Linked DNA regions of Homo sapiens: region 1 is linked to region 2. Evidence: promoter capture Hi-C in 16 types of primary human blood cells and fetal thymus (Javierre and others, 2016). All regions are on one chromosome and are shown on one strand. The core of a region is centred on a gene start or on the middle of the fragment in contact, and the rest is flanking DNA. Distances in the headings are between cores, read along the strand shown. Region 1 overlaps TRDN (triadin). Region 2 holds the start of CLVS2 (clavesin 2).

Region 1 (3,739 bases), core at 609-3,108, 310 kb after region 2:
AAGTGAGTGGGTGGATGATGCCAACCAGTGCTCAGGAATGGCGAAGACCTCACCGTTAGTTAGCAAGCATTGATACAGTAACTTGGTGCATAGTCATTCAACAGATAGGGATAATGGAATAAGTGAATAAAACACTGAAAAGTCAAAAAAATAGGACCAAACACATCCATTTTGAATTAGCCAAGTTTGTGGCAAGAGAGAAGCTTGATGTTTTTCTTTCTGGAGATAAGGGCAGTACTGAATGTCTATAAATTTTTGAACAAGGCATCTCAAATTTTAATGTGCATATAAATGACTTAGGACTCTTGTTAAAATGCAAGTTCTTATTCATCAGTTCTTGATGGGCCCTAAGATTCTATATTTCTAACAAGCAGCTAGGTGATGCTGATGTTGTTCTTTGGACCACACTTTAAATAGTAACTGTATAGATTATAACCTTTTATATTTTTCACTTACTTTATTGATATATTTTATATGTTTATAGTTTTTTAGGCATTTTCATTATGTCACATTTAGATATGCATTACATTGCTAAATTTTTACAATAAATTTGATAGACTGGCATGGAATATACTGTCAGTAATTCCATTTTAAAGAAGCTGAGACTTAGAAGTTAAATCATGATGTCAAATCACTTAGAAGTTAAATGATGATGTAAACCACTCCATATCAATTGTCCCAGAGCTCCTTCCTCTACATCTTTCTGTCTTCATTGGCCTTTTACACACAGAAAACTGCCTGTGCATGTGGTATATATCATAAAGTCAAGAAACATGTCAAAAACAGATTTTAAAAAAATTATTAACCAATGATTTCCTTTCCATAAAGATAATGTTGTTGGACCTACTGTGGCTATAGTGGCTTTTGAAATATTTTTTTCTGCCTTAGATATTAAAGACATAACTCACAGAACAGATAATATAGGAGCTAAGACACAAGGTTAGAATAAATCTATGCAACAAACGACATGAATACCACATGATACATTAGAAGAAAACATGTGCAAACAGACCAAGGATAAAGACATGTTTACCGCTAGAAAGTCATGGGCAGGTGGGATAGTTTGTTGATGAAATTCGAGGTTAGATGAATAAATAGGATGTTTTCAGTGAGGGACTGAGTGAAAGGGGAAGATTCAAAAGACATTGAGAAGAGAAAAATTCACAGAACTGGTAATGGTTTTTAAATGTCTGTGTGGGCTTCTGGTGATGGTTGTGGTGGATTAAACAAGTAGAAACTATGGAAATAAATATGTTGAGGGCAGTATGACAATGAATGACAGTAACCTAGCACTGTTCCCTACAGATGTCCATTTTGTAAAGATAAGTAGCATAGGCTTGTGGTAGATCTTTAAAGAGAAAATGTAAACAAGATAATAAGTTAATGATTTTGTATATTTATTCAGGGAAGAGATAATAAGAATCAGAAAAAAACAGGTTTTACCCAGAAGAATTAAAAAAATGGAGAGAATAAATTTGGGAGACACATAACTTCGTGCCTACTTGGATGCTGGGTTCTGAAACAGAAAGAAGAGTTGTAAATGACTCAGAAGTTTAAGCCAATGTAACTGAATGGCAAGTCATGACTTCCATGAGATAAGAGCAAAAGAAAAAAGGACAATGGAAGAGATGTTGAGTTCAATTTTAAGGAAAATGTTTTGCAGACAGAATAACCATATAAAGAAGAAGTTGATTAGCAGTTAGAAATGCAGTTACAGAACTGTGAAAATTTTGTATATGAATATTAATTTTCTTTTATTTTCTTTTTTTTTTTTTTTTTTTGAGACGGAGTCTTGCTCTGTTGCCAGACTGGAGTGCAGTGGCGCCATCTCAGCTCACTGCAACCTCCGCCTCCTTGGTTCAAGGGATTCCCCTGCCTCAGCCTCCCAAGTAGCTGGGACTACAGGCATGCTCCATCATGCCCGGCTAATTTTTTTGTATTTTAGTACAGATGCAGTTTCACCATGTTGGCCAGGATGGTCTGGATCTCCTGACCTCATGATCCGCCAGCCTCGGCCTCCCAAAGTGCTGGGATTAAAGGCGTGAGACACTGCGCCCGGCTTAATTTTCTTAATATAAAAGTAAGATAAGTGATTGCATATTACTTATGCAAGTTTTTTTTATAAACATGTTTTTTCTCTTGTGTTAACTTATTTAGTTTATTTGAAGATTGTCTGACAAAAAACTGTGTTTTCGGTGCACAGCATTAAACACAGGTTTCTGATAATTTTAAATCAATGGACCAAATAAAATTGTACATAAAGAAACTGATGGATCCATGAAACTGCTAATAGAGATCAAGCTGAAAATAAGCTGATTATATAACATTAAATAACTGATAAAGATAATGTTTTTATGACTGTTATTTAAAATATTATTGATCCTTTACTTAAATGCTTTGTTTTCCAGATTTCAAAAAAAGTCTTTCTTAAGCAATTTGGTAAAATATAGTTGTGTAAACAAAGATAAAAACATTTTTCTTCTTATTTAATTTCTCCAAAAATTTAAAAACTATTTGCAAATATTTTTATGGCAATATGGTTATTTACAAAAGTCCAATAAAATCTGCTCTCTCTTTACAGCAAAATACAATTGAAAACATTGCTTATACTACCAAGGTGCCAAGGCTTCAATTAAAATGTCACATTTTACAATATGTCCAAAATTTCTGACTTCAAGAGTTCCCATTCTTACAATAAGTAAATAAAAACTGTCATTTCCTGGAAGGCCCAGGAACCTTAAGACAGTAAGCAAATTCTAAAGTCTGCCTTGGTTTGGCTTCCTAGCTTCAAGAGTTTTTTAAATCTAGGGTTTCTATATGATCAATTAAAAACATGTTTACAAAGAAAAGCTATAATACACCTGTTATTAGATTGTAACTCTATATATCATTTTTAGTTATTGTTATCTATCTATAGGCTAGACTAGGTCTTAAATTGTTTTAGGTTCCTCCAATTCAACTTTCTTCCATAAAAGTGGTAAAATGAGAACTGCTCTGTCCTTAAAGCCCTATAAGGTAATGCTAGGCAAGTTCTAAAGAACAATTCTCATGTCTGGTATATGAAACACAGAAAGTTCACAAAACCGCCTGATGCCACGACCAAAGACATTCAAACTACAAACTAGGACAAAAAGTTTCTGTTTTCCACATGAAACAACTTTCCTTGAGATGTTGGAACAAGATTCCTTATTATTATGAGACTCTTACACCCCTCAAGGCTGCCTTTTTCATTGACTGGATAATGGCATAATTAAAATTTCAGTCAGTAGCTTCTGTTGGTAACTTGACATATCTTGACCTAAGAAATCCCTTTTATCTGTACTGTGAGCAGCTCTGACAATATCCCTATCACAACTTTTTGTTCAAATTGTACTGGTAATCCTTTTGGTAAAGCTGGTATTCTCTGCTTTAATTCAACCCAGTCATAAACTACTACTCAGTGGCTATAACAAGTCTCAGCAGAATATGTCTAGACTTTTAGATATGTTTTGTTGGTTACCTTCAGAATTAGGTTTAAGCTTTCAAACTAGTTATTCAAACTGGATTTATTATATGTTTACTGACGGTTTTTTGTATGATAATTTTTAAGCTTTGTTTCTATTGCCTGTCTAATCTTTGTAAAGCCAACTCTTCCAACAGGATAATATTAGTTCAATACCTCAAGATGATTGCTGATGTCTGCCCAGGGACAGATAAAATGGAATTTGATGCTGGGATCCAGCCAAATCTGCCCTGAGAA
Region 2 (4,121 bases), core at 47-2,546:
ACTTAAAATCCTAGAAGGACCTTATATATAGTGCATATATATAACACACATATACACACACTTAAGTGGTTTATTTTCTGCCTTCCCCATTTAAAACATAAATTCCTTGACAATAATGACTGTGTGTGTGTGTGTGTGTGTGTGTGTAATTTATTGTCTTATTCGGGTTCCTACATTAATTTGCATTAATTTAATTAATAAATGCTCTAGCTCTACCATACAACCCTTTTCCTTCTTTCTTTTTATCAACACCATCGCCATGAGAAGAGCAAAAACAAGTGTGCCTGTATTTTGAGGGTTCTCATAGTCATCAACATTGAAAATGACAAGATAAGAAATGTCAAGATAAGAAAATGACAAAATTTGCTTATCTTCAAGACCACCTCCTATACACAGAATGCAGAAAAATGCCCCACACCTCGTGGAACTCAGTAAATATTAGTTGCATTGAATTAACTTCAATTCAAGACCCCATTCTACAGTTTATAAAGTCAAAAGTTGCTCTTAGTAACACGCTCAGTAATATGTGCTGTGTTTTGAAAATAGAAAATATCCCTTTTCCTCAAATCCATAGATAGTCATATTAAGCGCAAGGACTTCTGTTTATTTATAATGATTCTCATATACAGATGCATACAACTGAAGGAAGGATGGTATGTGTTTCCAGAAATATTTGCTTTATGATGAGATATGAGTGAAGTTCCTATTTTTTTCTTCCTTTGAGAATTATGTTTTTATTATCATTTACCCTAGTGCTCATTTTCATCCTCTTCAACAGAAATTTAGCAGGGAGACTGGTTGAAAAACTATTCATATAAGTTCCTCCGGAGGCTTAATCATCAGTACATTGTCTTGGAACCACTCTGGTGTTTTCTAAATTAAATATCTCTGTCTACAACAAATGCGAAAAGTACAGAATGTTTCCGTACTCCTTCTACATCAAAATTGCCTCCTACAGGAACGAGAAAATGCGTGTCAATGTGAATTACCGTCTACAACAGCTACTCTCCAGGCTGATCTGGGGTCTTGCACACAAAGGGCGAAGAGAGGGGCGTGGGGAGGCTGGAAAGCATGGTTGCCCCGCCTGGCCCGGCGACGCCCGCTCAGCAGCCTGCTGAGGAGTGGGGACGAAGAGCAGCCTAAACTTAGGGCTCGGGATATTTCGATGCCACCCAAATTGCCGTCCTACCCCAACGAGGCAGGGAAAGGAGCGGAGCGCGCGCGCGAGCTGAGTGAGTGCTTACGTCGCAGCGAGATCTGTGCTGGGATAATTAGAGAGGAGTTGGGCTGAGCCGAGTCCTCTTTCAGCAGCAGCAGCCGGAGCCGCCGCCGCAGCCCGGTGGGGCAACCCTGACTCGGACCGCTCGGGAGAGCCCCAGGAGAGGCCAGCGCCGCGCAGCAGCCGCCCCGCTGCGCCCACCTCCCCGGCTGCTCCCGGAGGGCTCACAAAGGCGGTGGCCGCCCGAGTGGCCTTCTCCATCCAGGCGTTCGCGTCCTCCTCCCCACCTTCTCTCCCGAAGGCGAAAATGGCAGGGCCAGGCGAGAACCTGGGACAGCGGTGGCCCTAGCCCTGCGATCCTCACCCCTCCTGCTAGGAGAGGCTGCGGGCTGCCCGCGGACGATGTGGCCGCGGCTGCTCCCGAGCGCATCTTCGGCCCGGGTCCCCGCCGCCACCCCTCTTCTCTGCTCCTTCCATCCCGCCCAGAGGAGTTGATGCCGCTGTCGCCGCCGCCGCCGCTGCTGAAGCCGCGGCTGATGGATGCCAGGGAGTGCCGCATTGCTTAGCGACCCCGCCTCTGGGTTTGCTGGTAGGAGCGGCTGCTCTTTCTTCTTTCTTGCTTTGGGGTTTTATAGAAAAGATAAGGACATTTTTATTTTATTCTTCACAACGTCCTCCCCTTCTCTTCGTTTTTGAAATGTGCATTCCCAGAGATATCCCCGGTCCCCTCCCTCCCCCTCCCCCCTTTTCTCCAACCCCGCGGCAAGTCCGTGGAAATGAAGGGCTAGAGGAAGGCAGAAGTTGGGGGTGGGGTTGGGGGAGCCCACGCTGGTACCAACGCCACCAGAACCCCTGCTGGTGCCTTATGAGATCACGGTGTATCTCAGAGGGGTGGTGGGAAGGTGCGCTATCTGCAGAGTCTTCACCTAATTGGATCACAATAATCTTAAATAAATCACACAAATTTGTCTTTTAAAAATAGCGTCTTTGAATAAGTACAGGGAGAAATAATCTCCTTTCTCCCCCCTCTTTCTCTCTGTCTCTTTTTCTTTCTGGCAAAGATGATCTCTCTCCGCCCTGGAGCTCAGCGCTGAAGAGCTACCTTATTATTAATCAGAATTTCCATCGCCACCCCTGGCAGGCGTATCCTTCAGCAGGGACCGCAGGAACATTCACAGTGCAGGGGCTGAGATGTGCGTGGGGGTTGTTTTTGTTACATCTTGGAAGAGAAGAGAAGAGGACAGTACCAAGATCAGAAACACCCGTGCTAGGTGGAATTAGGGGTGATTTGTTAGGAAAGAGAAAGGACAAGAAGAGGAGTGCGGAGCCCTTCAGGGGTTCACATCTCTTTAAAGGAAAGGAAAGAGGGAGCCAAAGTAGGGTGTTGTATTTTAGGGGGCAGAGGAAGAAGTTTACACCCCCCGGCCCCCCCAGCTTTGCTGGGGGAAAGCAGGAGCAACAGGGCACTTGATTGGACACCAAGATTATTAATTTCCTGTAGGGGAGAGGAAGCAGGCAGCAGGAGGTCTGGGGGCTGGAGTCTGGTGGTGGCAAGGACCAGGTTTGCTTTGGGACAGTCAACAAGGTCTTCTGAGGGAAAGCTCAGAGATAGGCAGAACAATGACTCATTTGCAAGCCGGTCTCTCCCCTGAGACCCTGGAGAAAGCTCGCCTGGAGCTCAATGAAAACCCAGACACGCTGCACCAGGACATCCAGGAGGTGAGGGATATGGTCATCACCAGGCCGGACATTGGCTTTCTGCGCACGGATGATGCCTTCATCTTACGCTTCTTGCGGGCTAGGAAGTTTCATCACTTTGAGGCCTTCCGCCTCCTGGCGCAGTACTTTGAGTACCGGCAGCAGAACCTGGACATGTTCAAAAGCTTTAAGGCCACCGACCCTGGCATCAAGCAGGCACTGAAGGATGGCTTCCCTGGGGGCCTGGCCAATCTGGACCACTATGGCAGGAAGATTCTAGTCCTTTTTGCTGCCAATTGGGATCAGAGCAGGTAAATCCTAAATCCAAACTTGTATTCTCCTTTTACTCTCCCATTTTCCAGAATTTACCCCGAGTAGTGTCATGGTTTTGTAGATTTGATATTTTTGTTTATTTGGCTTGGAGAAAAGAGAAACAAACCAGGAGATGAGTTTTTGGTGGGCACCCTGGGAAGGGAGGAGGGCTTGTATTTTTACTTTTAAAACTTACTTCACTAACACCCACTTTCTACTGCAGCTTTAAGGTGCTACCTTAACCACGTTATTGCACAGAGATCTAAATCACTTAACTTGTAAATAAAGCTTCTCTGTATGTTTCACCTTCTGAAAAAGTTTATTGGGCTGGATAAACCAGTAAGAAAATGGGGACAACTTTTCCTCCTTCTTCCTAAAAAAATTCTTAAACTAGACCCATCATCATTGTCATCATCATCATCATCATCCTCTCTTTGGTACTGACGTTTTATCTTTTAAGCATAGCCTGGCGTTCGACCAAAAGCAAGTAGTTTTGTTGCTTGGGAAGTTCTCTGTTTGGTGATGTGTAGAAGAAGGAATAATATGATTTGTGTCCCTTCAGTGAAAGGAAGAGTTGCATCCTCTGTCGCTGAGCATGCCTGCTGACACTGAAAATGTACACTGACTGGTGTATGTGTCCTACACCTGCCACTAATCTAAAGAATCTGTCTCCTGTCTCATGTGATTTTTCATCTTTTGGAAGGAAGTGGAAAATATTCAGATGTGTCAGTTGGTGGACTTTTTGAGCTCATGTGCTACTTAATAGAGAAGAAATAATATTCTTTTTATCTACATTATTATAGAAAAATGCAGGCAATGACACTTCTCTGTCCTCCTTCAGAACTGTTTTCTCAGACTGAAAGATATAAGAAATTATAAAAGGCTCTTGTGC

The links. Contacts are between HindIII fragments. The CHiCAGO score rates a contact against its expected background, and 5 or more counts as called.
Region 1: a fragment that was not itself captured here is called in contact with the fragment with the promoter of CLVS2 in region 2 in 1 of 17 cell types (endothelial precursors); the score reaches 6.1 in endothelial precursors.

Annotation. Positions count from the first base shown.
Region 1 is chr6:123,302,491-123,306,229 of GRCh38, forward strand. The region is part of intron 24 of TRDN (triadin); the gene reads right to left. Among named protein-coding and RNA genes, the nearest start is that of TRDN-AS1, 140 kb to the right of the region's middle. The HindIII fragment of the contact is 3,315 bases long and covers 202-3,516 here.
Region 2 is chr6:122,994,939-122,999,059 of GRCh38, forward strand. CLVS2 (clavesin 2) reads left to right here and starts at 1,297. Exons shown (of 6, transcript NM_001010852.4): 1 at 1,297-1,808; 2 at 2,281-3,228. The coding sequence starts at 2,840. The HindIII fragment of the contact is 3,468 bases long and covers 1-3,100 here.